3 separate regions of the Homo sapiens genome follow, and regions 1 and 2 are each linked to region 3. Evidence: promoter capture Hi-C in 16 types of primary human blood cells and fetal thymus (Javierre and others, 2016). All regions are on one chromosome and are shown on one strand. Each heading gives the region's core, a stretch centred on a gene start or on the middle of the fragment in contact. The rest is flanking DNA. Distances are from core to core; before and after follow the strand shown. Region 1 overlaps MRPS15 (mitochondrial ribosomal protein S15). Region 2 overlaps OSCP1 (organic solute carrier partner 1). Region 3 holds the start of TRAPPC3 (trafficking protein particle complex subunit 3).

Region 1 (3,690 bases), core at 69-2,568, 310 kb after region 3:
TTTGTATTTTTAGTAGAGACGGGGTTTCACCGTGTTAGCCAGGATGGTCTTGATCTCCTGACCTTGTGATCCACCTGCTTGGCCTCCCAAAGTGCTGGGATTACAGGCGTGAGCCACCGCGCCTGGCCTAGTCTTACTATTATTATCACACATCGTGAGCTTTAGTTTCCAAGGTGTGTTTACATCCCCTAGCTGCCTCTCACAATGCTGCCATGAGGTGGGTAACATTACCTCTGCTCTGCTCTCCCTTATTCCCCCATTTCCAGATGAGGAAGCAGGGGCTCCAAGAGAGGGTTGGTGACTTACCCAAGCTCACACAGTGGTACAAGGTCCAACTGGGTGTTGACTCCAGCATCAGAGCTTGGGATACAGGGTCCAATTTTCATTGCCCTAGGTCCTTCATGTCTCTCCCTTTCCCCAGCCCATGTGCATGTGCTTGTAGACAAGAGCCCTAGATCAGGTCCCAGCTAGCAGGCTTCCCTACACCCCCACTCCCCAAGGGTCCCCGACCAACTTCGAGCCTCCAGGGATCTGGTGTCCTCTGGGTTTGCAACAATCTTCTTCATAAACTGTTCTTGCTTGATTTTTAGCATCTCCTTCTGTTGAAGACAGAGACAGAGAAAATCTGTGGAGTCTGCCACCCTCTAAGAACTAGCCCTCCTCCCCCCAAGGGCCCTGGCTACAGTTATAGCAACTAGGGCCATAAGGCTCAGGGCCTGACTTCACTCTGCTCACTGTGGCCTTGACCAACCACATGGCTATCCACATCCAGGTGAGCCCAAAGCCAAAGCCACTGACAGAGGAAATGACTTGTTGCATGAATGTCCCCAAAGCTTGCTCATTCATTTATGCTCATTCATTCATTCACTGAGCACCTGTTTGTCAGGTGCTAGGGGTATGGTGGGGGAACAAAAGTGTCCCTGCCCTGAAGATGCTCTGTCTAGGGATATTGACAAATGGAGGCAGAATGACAGTGGGCTAAGTGCTGTGACTGGAGAAGCATGAGATGCGGGGTGCTAATCAGGGTAGAAGGGAGTCCCAGAGGAGAAGACTGCGGGAGGCTGAGGCTTGGCAGAGGCTGCTCACCTTGTTGGCCATTTCCAAAGACAAGAGTCTTTTCACGACATCATCAACCCTGTGGATAAACCACAGCAATGAGACAGACATTGGGGGAGAAGAGAGGAAAGCAATGCTGGTTTCATTTTAGTTTGAAAAGCAAAGATGATTGAAAAATTCCTTCTGTAGCAAATGAATCTCCCTGGAGGTGGGGAGCCATTTCCCAGGGATTAAAAGTCAGTGTGGATCTGGCTTGCTGGGCTGAAACTACAGAAACTGGGGCTGTCAGCTCGACTGTTCCGGTCTCATCACAGGGAGGGCAAGGAGAGGATTTCCATTTTAGCTACAACATGGTTCAATCTGTTTTGAGACATTTCAAGTTAAATTGCACAGTGGGAGGGACTGACCAGCTCCCACCACACTGCATAGGAGCTGAGCAGAGGGCCTCTGGCTTTGGTGTCAGTCAGCCCTGGATTCAAACTCTAGCTCTGCCCTTTAGAACTGTATGACACTGGACAGCTTGAAAATCTATAAAATGGGGACATACAGCTTTTGTGAGGAACAAGAGATGAGAGATTTCTACAAAGACCTGTGAAGTATGTTAGCTCCTTGGAATCTAGTGGTACAGGGTGTTCATCTAGAGTACAAAAAAACCCCCAAGTAGCCGAGCTCCATGAGTGCCATCTGCCTTGCTGACCACCCACCCTCACCACACCTGGACACCTGGGCCCCTGCCTCCTTCTAGATCAAGCTTCAGCTACAGCAAGCCAAGTCTCAAAGCCACTGTCTTTCCCCACTCCCCGACAATCCTCCCAGGGCCCCCTGCCTCCTCTACTAGGTTTCTTCCTGCTTACTTCTCAATTCCAGGGACATTCTGGTAGTCTTTGAGCAGCGTAGAGGGAGGTGGGTCATCATCCAGCCTAGACTGGGCTGTCAAGTAAATATGGGGATAGAAAACACCCAGAGTCAACTCTCGCTGCCCACCCTCCCAGACCTGGCTCTTTTCACCCACTCTCCAACTCCAGAAGGGACATTCAGGGTCTCAAGCAAAGCACTGGATATCTCTCGGCTCAGTTTCTCCTTTGCAAACTCCGTGGGCACCTGCTTTGATATTTCATGTTGCGAGTAGGTGGCTTTTCCCAAGACCCTACACTGTGCCTGCACCTTTCACACACCTATCTGGCTCTACAGTTCTCAGATCCCCCACTAGGATGGGTCCTCCTGTGGATAGGACAGAGTTTGACTCCCTTGGAATCCACCATAGTCTGGCCCATGGCTCAGCCTAGACTAGGCACTCAACAAACACTTGCTGGCTGACTGCATGTATGAATTAAGGGGGTTGAGGAAAGGCAGCTAGCTGTACGATGCCTGAAATGTAAGCACCAAGTAGAGATCACAGGAAAACCTCAGTCTTGGTGTGTGCACCCCTGCTATCCCTTGGAGATGAGGAAGAGGCATAGAGTAGATGGACTTATCCTCTCCAGTCAGACCCTGCTATGCAAATAACATTAATGGGCCTCTTCTGTCTGTAACAGCTCAAGTTGATTCTGATAGGGAGGCAGAAAAGAATTATATTAAAAATATATTAATAGCAATAAATTCTACTTATTTTATTTTTTGTAGAGACTGGGTCTTGCTATGTTGCCCAGGCTGGTCTTGAACTCCTGGCCTCAAGTGATCCTCCAGCCTTGGCCTCCCAAAATGTTGGGGCCATGTCCAGCCAATAATTTCTTTCTTTTTTGTTTTTTTGAGATGGAGTCTCGCTCTGTCACCCAGGCTGGAGTGCAGTGGCACGATCGGCTCACTGCAACCTCCACCTCCCAGGTTCAAGCGATTCTCCTGCCTCAGCCTCCTGAGTAGCTGGGATTACAGGCGCGCGCTACCACACCTGGCTAATTTTTTTCTGTATTTTTAGTAGAGACGAGGTTTCACCATGTTGGCCAGGCTGGTCTCGAACTCCTGAACTCAAGTGATCTGCCCACCTTGGCCTCCCAAAGTGTTGGGATTACAGGCGTAAGCCACCGCGTCCGGCCCCAGATAATAAATTCTAATATATACTATCAATATATTTAATTGAGCACAGCGTTAAGGGTGCTTTTCGTGTATTATCGCTGAATCCTAACAATCCTTGCAAATGGATACTTTCACACTCATTTTAGAAATAAGAATCAGAGAGAGGAAGTACCTTGCCCCATATCATTTACCTAATAAGAAGGATCTTAACTACTATGCATACTGAGTTGCAATGGGAAATTACATCCTGCATCTCAGAAGCGCAGACACAAAGTGCCATACTCTAGGTAGGCCTGGGTGGTGCCAGCCATGCACTCCCTCTGGGAAGCTCATTTTCACTCATTCACCTGGAAAGCTCCTGCTCCCGCCCTTCACACCCCTCTGTCCCCATACAGGCTGCAGGCCTAGGGCTTTGTGTAAGGTGGACGTGGGGTCTTTTGCTCAGGACCTCTGGCTCACCTCATCTAGTGGCTCTAATTCGCCACATCGGTCCCCTTACCCACCCCAGCCTTCCAGGAGGTCTCTCTTCCGCCCCAAGTCCCACCTTAGGAACTCCTACCTGGTTTCCGGACGACATATCCGCGCGCGGCCTGGAGGAGGAGACCTACGCAGAAAAGAGAG
Region 2 (3,476 bases), core at 137-2,636, 290 kb after region 3:
CGAGGCGGGCGGATCACGAAGTCAGGAGATCGAGACCATCCTGGCTAACGCTGTGAAACCCCGTCTCCACTAAAAAAAAATACAAAAAATTAGCCGGGCGTGATGGCGGGCGCCTGCAGTCCCAGCTACCGGGAGGCTGAGGCAGGAGAATGGCGTGAACCCGGGAGGCGGAGCTTGCGGTGAACCGAGATCGCGCCACTGAACTCCAGCCTGGGTAACAGAGCGAGACTCCAGCTCAAAAAAAAAAAAAAAAAAAAAAGTAATTTGTTTTTTATTTTTTTCCCTTCATCCTAACATCCCTGAAGAAATAGTTTTAATCAGACCCGCCCATTAGTCTAAGTGTTGGTTTTTGGCATGCAAATGAGTTCTGCATACTTTTCACGAGGCCGGAATATACTAGGAGCCGGATTTCAATAGGAAGAGGCTAAGGGGGGCCGGGCGCAGTGGCTCACGCCTGTAATCCCAGCAGTTTGGGAGGCCGAGGTGGGTGGATCACCTGAGGTCGGGAGTTCAAGACCAGCCTGACCAACATGGAGAAACCCCATCTCTACTAAAAATACAAAATTAGCCAGGCGTGGTGGCTCATGCCTGTAATCTCAGCTACTCAGGAGGCTGAGGCAGGAGAATTGCTTGAACCTGGGAGCGGAGGTTGTAGTGAGCTGGGATCGCTCCATTGCACTCCAGCCTGGGCAACAAGAGCGAAACTCCGTCTCAAAAAAAAAAAAAAGGAGGCTAAGGCAGGGGAGGGAAGGGATTTTTCACAGGAGCCTCAGAAAGTTGGTAATTGGGTTCTCAACATAGCAAGCTTCTAGTCCTGGGTTCAGATTATGAAGCCAGTTTCTGTTCATTATTTTTGAACATTTATGTTAAAATAAATTTCAATGATTCAATTATGTATATGAAAAGCTCTCAAAATCCACACTTCATACCTGAAATTCTGCTATGCATCAAGGGAGGGACGGGTCAAAAATTGCTCAAGAAGTGTCAAACGATGGTTGTGAAATGTAATAAAGTGTACCAAGTACTTCAATTGGGCTTTTTTTCGAGACTGGTCTGATGAAATAATTATCTTGATGAAAGCAATCAAGTTTTTACCAATTACCTCTGCTCTAAATTGACTTGTTTATGGGAATATGAAATTTGGAGCCAAGAATTTAGAGAGAGGCTAGGAAACCCTCCTGAATAGTTACCATGTTTCAATCCTTTCTATGTCCCAGGCACTGGGCTTAGAACTTTATATGCATTATCTCATTTAAACTCCAAGACAACTCTGAATTATTATCCTCATTTTTTTTTCCTGCCAGACCACTTATCGTTTTATATTATCCTCATTCTATTAAGGAGGAAAACTGAATCAGAGAGTTTAAAGTCCAAGGTCACACAGCTGGTGATGGAGCTGAAATTAGAATTAGGTCTGTTTGATTTAATGCCTGTGCTTTTAAATATTATTATTATTATTATTATTTTTGAAGTGGAGTCTCGCTCTGTCGCCCAGGCTGGAGTGCAGTGGCAAGATCTCGGCTCACTGCAACCTCTGCCTCCCAGGTTCAAGTGATTCTCCTGCCTCAGTCTCCCAAGTAGCTGGGATTATAAGTGCCCACCACCATGCCCAGGTAATTTTTGTATTTTTAGTAGAGACAGGGTTTCACCATGTTGGCCAGGCTGGCCTCGAACTCCTGACCTCAAGTGATCCTCCTGCCTCAGATTCCCAAAGTGCTGGGATTACAGGTGTGAGCCACTGCACCTGGCCTCTTAAATATTATACAGGTTGTCTTCCCAGCATACTTGGTGTGGTGAGAGCATTTAAAATATTGAGGAGGATGGCTGATGATAGGCACACACCACACCCAAATGTCAAATGACAGAAGGTATCTGAGATTTATTTAAAGGCTGAGAAAGTCTAAGGCTTTATTCTGAGGAGTCGACAACTTTTTCAGGTTTCCTGCTTGCAGTAGGTAAGGGGAAACTGAAGCTTTTGCATGATGAGGCCACACTGCATGCATGATGTCATGCCTTCTGCCCACAGTCCTGGCAGCCATGCAGTTACATGCTTCAATTTTTCTCGGTTGCTCTGTGAGCTTAGGAGAATGGCTCAGGGAGGGTCACTCATGTTGAAGCACAATTCTTTGGTTACATGACAAAACAAAGTTGTTTTAAGGACTACCAAATAGGATGACATACCCCAAAGTATGGCTATTGCCCCAGCTGTCCCAGCAAAGCTTGGAACTGAGAAAAGGAGACATATCCCTCAAGTACAGTGTGGCTTTTTGGTCAGAGTTTGCTTAGTTTTCATCTTAACATGCTGTATTTCTTCCTCTTAAGTAAAAGATTCAAATGTATAACCAATATCTCAGCTAAAGACAAACTCATGCCTATTTTCTTACTTTGACTTTGAAATGTTTCAAGCGGTCCCATTTTAAGCCCTGCTGATAAAGGCCTGAGTGAACCTGTGGATGCACACTGAACACATGCAGCCCGGAGATAGCATACCTCGTTTTCTGTCCACCTCTGTCCATTCATCTACATGAAGCATACAAAAAGAAAACACCAGTTCATGAAGCAAGAACATTATTTTCAAGGAGGCTTTAAACATACCAATTCCAATGATCTTATCTATGAAACTTTACTTTTCACGTTGGCATTTAATGTCTAATGTGAGCACACTGCCTTCTATTTGAAACCTTTAAAAGGATGATGGATAAACAACATATTTCAAAAAAGCTCAAGAAAGGCTATGTCTTACAGAGACTGGCCTAAGAAGAGAGTAAACTGAGGAGGATTAGCTATCCTGTGGTTCATCTTGAAAGGCCCAAGAAGCCCCGCTCTCTAATGCTACAAGAATACATATCATTCAGTAGTAGGCTTTTAAAGACGCTAGCCTCCATGAGGAAGAATAATTCCAAGAACAGGCAGAGAAAAGAGTTTCTTTGTATACAATCTGAGTTTTCTTTTCTTTTCTTTTTTTTTTATTAATGTAAGATTTCCCTTTCTAGAGGACAGATGGAACTGCTCAAATTAGAAAACTTGAAATGTGAATTAAAAGGAAAATGTCAGCATTTGTTTCTGTTTTACTTTTTATATATATAGATGCATGATTTCCATGTAAAAAGAAGCGAATAATGATGGGACCACTATGAAGAAAGCTTCTGAGGACAAAGGCAGCTGGGGAGATCCCAAGAGGAGACCAAATAAGGAAAAATGCAGTTGGCTAGAGAAATCGGTGAGAATCAAGACTCTATGGGTTGAAACCTGGCTCTACTTACTGGCTATATAAACTTCAAGCAACTTGTTTAACCTCAGTTTCCTTCGTAAAATAGGGATCATAATAGCACCTATCTTACAGGCCTATTGTGGGGATAAAGCATAACACACATCAAATACTTAGCTGGCTTCCCTTTGAGTTCTGTTTCCTCTACTGAGGGACATTAGACACCACCCATAAAGGATGGAAGATGACTTTTTTCCTTTCCTTAATT
Region 3 (3,457 bases), core at 299-2,798:
TGAGAGCAAAGTACAAAAACTAACCAGGAAGACCTCTACTCATCTCATAGGAAAAGGAGAAAGAAACATTTACCATGCCCCTCACATTTTACACCATCCCATTTAATATTAGGTAGACATTACTATCCCCATTTTATAGATAAAGAAATTGAAGATCAATCAAGTAAGTCAGAATTCCAACCAAGGTCCATGTGTTTCCCCTTACCTGACATTGTTTCCTAACAAAATATTCTCGTCTTTTGGCCGGGTGTGGTGGCTCACCCCTGTAATCCCAGCACTTTGGGAGCCTGAACAGGCAGATCACTTAAGGCCACGAGTTCGAGACCAGGCTGGCCAACATGGTGAAACCCCGTCTCTACTAAAAATACAAAAATTGGTCAGGCGCAGTGGCTCACGCCTGTAATCCCAGCACTTTGGGAGGCCGAGACAGGCGGATCACCTGAGGTCAGGAGTTCGAGACCAGCCTGGCCAACATGGTGAAACCCCATCTCTACTAAAAATACAAAAATCAGCCAGGCGTGGTGGTGGACACCTGTAATCCCAGCTACTCGGGAGGCTGAGGCAGAAGAACTGCTTGAACCTGGGAGGCAGAGGTTGCAGTGAGCCAAGTTAGTGCCACTGCACTCCACCCCGGGTGACAGAGATTTCGTCTGGGGGCGGGGGGAGGGAGGGAAGAACGAAAGAAAAATGACCTAAGTCTGCAGCCCCAGCCCCTAGTCCAACTTTATAGGACCATATGGTGTCCAAACTATTCCCTGGGAAAGAAGGGAGCCACCCACTCCATTAGAGGGGCACCACTCACTGCTTACTCTGGCCCATCTCTTATTCCATTGAATAAAACGTTCCTTTCTGGCACGACCAGTATCTGAACATCTCTCACAATACCCACGCCACAGTACGAGACACTGTAGCCTAAGAGTAAAGCCTAACAGTCAGCTCCTAGCATTAGCTTTGGAGTTAAACACGGGTCCAAATCCTAACTTCCCAGGTGTAAATATGGGCAAATTACGTAAGCTCTCCAAGCTGTAAAACGGCAATGTTATCCATCTGATAGGGGCTACTCTGCAGATTAACTGAGATGCTGTAACGTGCGTGGCCCGGTGCCCAACACATAGTAAGAGAGAAGTTAAGTGGCAGTTATTGGTATTTATTACCGTCGTTGTTGTTGGCTTAGCACAGAGCTGCACTCAGGCCTTGGGGGCGGGGTCTCCTCCGGGGAACTTCTCCGACGGTCCCCTCACCTGCCTGGAACGCCCCCGGAGTGACCCAGCAAGAGGCTTCCCCTTGCCAGAGCTCACAGGAAGGCCCTTTTCCAAACGCACCTCGCGCTCGGCGCCGGGCCCCTTCCCTGTACGCCTCAATTTCGCCCCGCCCGCCGAGGTCACGCGCTCCAAGTTACCATTTTCTTGCTCTCGGTGCCACGGTTCGCCTGCCTCGACATGGTGCCGGCCGCCCCGCCCCACTCGCCTAGCCACGGGTTAGCTCGGCGACCCCTGCAGACGCCGGAGCCTAAGCCGCTGCCCCTCAGCCCACAAGACCGACCGGCACTGACTCACTGCGCCTGCGCGGCCTCCCGCGGGGCACCACGGGACTAGTGGTCCGGCCGACGTGGGCAACTCCCGCCCAACAAACGTCAGACTACAACACCCAACAGCCCCTTTGGCAGCACCGCCTCTTAACACAGTCAACTACAACTCCCGGAGTGCTCCGCGCGCGCCTGCCTGGTAGAGCCCAGCTTGCGCTGGGCAGCATCCTGGCCGCTGGGTGGCGTCCGCAGCCTTCGGTAATCCTGGGTCACACACACGCTTCCTCCTTGTCCCCCTCCCCCCGCGCCCGGCTCAGAGATGATGCTCCACAAATTCCTCTCTCGCCGGGGTTGGTCTTGGAAAGTCCCTCTTTCGAGCTAGCGTCTTCCGCTGTTGCGATTCAGCTCCAGAAGCTCCCAAGATGTCCCAGAAAACTAGCAATGACTCACACAGAATTGGCTTCTTCATTAGAAAAATATTTAATGACCTACTATGTGCCAAGCATTTCGCTAGTGTCTTTCTCTTCAGACTGCCAAACCCCAAATGATGCCAGCACCTGCCTTCTACCACCTGTGGCCTCGTGATGGAATATCCAGTCTTTTAGGTAAAGTTCAAGTCACTTTCTCCCCCTCCCTCCCCCTAGAACAGCTACACTGCCTGGTTCCCAGAAAACAAAGATCACTAACTGTCGTGGCCGTCAGTTCTGAGTTCTAATCCCAGCTTTGCCATTTTAGGCAAGTTGCTAAATCTCTCTCAGTTGTTGTAAAGACTGGTGAGCCACGCATGCCCAGCACTTGGGCGCATAAAAGGCATAAAAGAAACGTGTATTCCCTTCCAGCCACCCTCCAAAAACAAGCCAACAAACAGGCACCAGAAACACGAAGGGAATGTGCTGGCTGAACTCTCACCCATCACCAAGGGGAAGTCTATAGTCCCTGACCACAGCTCTTTGGTTTCAGCTCCCGCGGTCTCTCAGCTGGTCAACTCTGAGGAAGCTGGGCTGGGGGGTCCCTGAGCACTCTCTGTTCACTTAGGCCTGGTAGCCTGACTGTAGCAGCTGCATTCTGGCCCCTAGCCCTCACCATGACAACCAGCCTGTCCAGACACGAGCCAGCCAGGCTAGGGAGGGCTGGGGGGCCGCTGAGGCTGCAAGCTGGTGCCCAGGGTTCCCCCAGTCCCTCCCTCAGGGTGCAGGACCAATCATTATTATACCCTTTTCCCCAGACATTCTGTTTCCTCCCTAGAGGCAGTGACCCCTCACTCTCCATCCTGTGTAATGCCACAGGGGAGGGAGCCAAGGGCCGAGGGCTCTGGGAAGGAACTTGAGGGTTGGTTGGGGTTGGGGGAGGAAAGCAGGAGTCAACTAGCCCCCAAGGGCCAGCTCAGCTAGACAAGAGCCCTCTGCATTCCCAGGACAGAGGACAGCTGAGGTGAAAGCTGCAGTTGGCCAGCCGGTCTGTCGGTCTGGGCTCCTCCCTGCCGGCTGCCCTTGGCTGCCCACAGAAACCTGAGTCACACTCACAGCCAGCCACCCAACCCCACCCTGCCTGCTGTCAAGCAGGGCGGTTCTAGAGAGAGTGGAGGTGGAGCCTTTCCCTGCCTGTCCAACAGCCTCCGAGATTTTGCCTCTCTCTGCCTGGGATTCCTCCTCTTGGCGTCTCTTTCTCTTTGGGACTTGCAGTGTCATTAGTCCTGAATGAACAGTGGGGGTGGGGGCCATCTCAGGTTGATCTATATGATCCCCTCCTCACTCAGATAGGTTCTTAAAGGCTTCTTAGGCCGAGCACAGTGGCTCATGCCAGTAACCCCAGCACATTGGGAGGCAAAGGCAGGAGGAACACTTTAGCCCAGGAGTTTGAGACCAGCCTGGGCAACATAGTGAGACCCCCATCTCCATAAAAAATAATTTTTAAAAAGGCTGTTCTGTTATG

What was found. The method cuts DNA at HindIII sites, captures the fragments that hold promoters and counts their contacts. A CHiCAGO score of 5 or more calls a contact.
Region 1: a contact is called between a fragment that was not itself captured here and the fragment with the promoter of TRAPPC3 in region 3, in 10 of 17 cell types (neutrophils, naive B cells, activated CD4 T cells and 7 more). The highest score is 9.8, in neutrophils.
Region 2: a fragment that was not itself captured here is called in contact with the fragment with the promoter of TRAPPC3 in region 3 in 6 of 17 cell types (neutrophils, naive B cells, activated CD4 T cells and 3 more); the score reaches 8.7 in neutrophils.

Annotation. Positions count from the first base shown.
Region 1 is chr1:36,460,178-36,463,867 of GRCh38, forward strand. It overlaps MRPS15 (mitochondrial ribosomal protein S15), which reads right to left. Exons shown (of 8, transcript NM_031280.4): 2 at 3,629-3,673; 3 at 1,911-1,986; 4 at 1,087-1,135; 5 at 515-599. Among named protein-coding and RNA genes, the nearest start is that of MRPS15, 2.4 kb to the right of the region's middle. RefSeq lists enhancers at 3,215-3,690, 3,514-3,690. The HindIII fragment of the contact is 974 bases long and covers 832-1,805 here.
Region 2 is chr1:36,441,514-36,444,989 of GRCh38, forward strand. All of the region lies in intron 1 of OSCP1 (organic solute carrier partner 1), which reads right to left. It overlaps LOC107984940 (a long non-coding RNA gene), which reads left to right. Exons shown (of 3, transcript XR_001737976.2): 2 at 3,088-3,220. Among named protein-coding and RNA genes, the nearest start is that of OSCP1, 7.2 kb to the right of the region's middle. The HindIII fragment of the contact is 1,167 bases long and covers 804-1,970 here.
Region 3 is chr1:36,147,938-36,151,394 of GRCh38, forward strand. It overlaps TRAPPC3 (trafficking protein particle complex subunit 3), which reads right to left and starts at 1,549. Exons shown (of 5, transcript NM_014408.5): 1 at 1,400-1,549. The coding sequence starts at 1,441. RefSeq lists enhancers at 1,219-1,879, 1,233-1,312, 1,443-2,102. The HindIII fragment of the contact is 15,390 bases long and covers 1-3,457 here.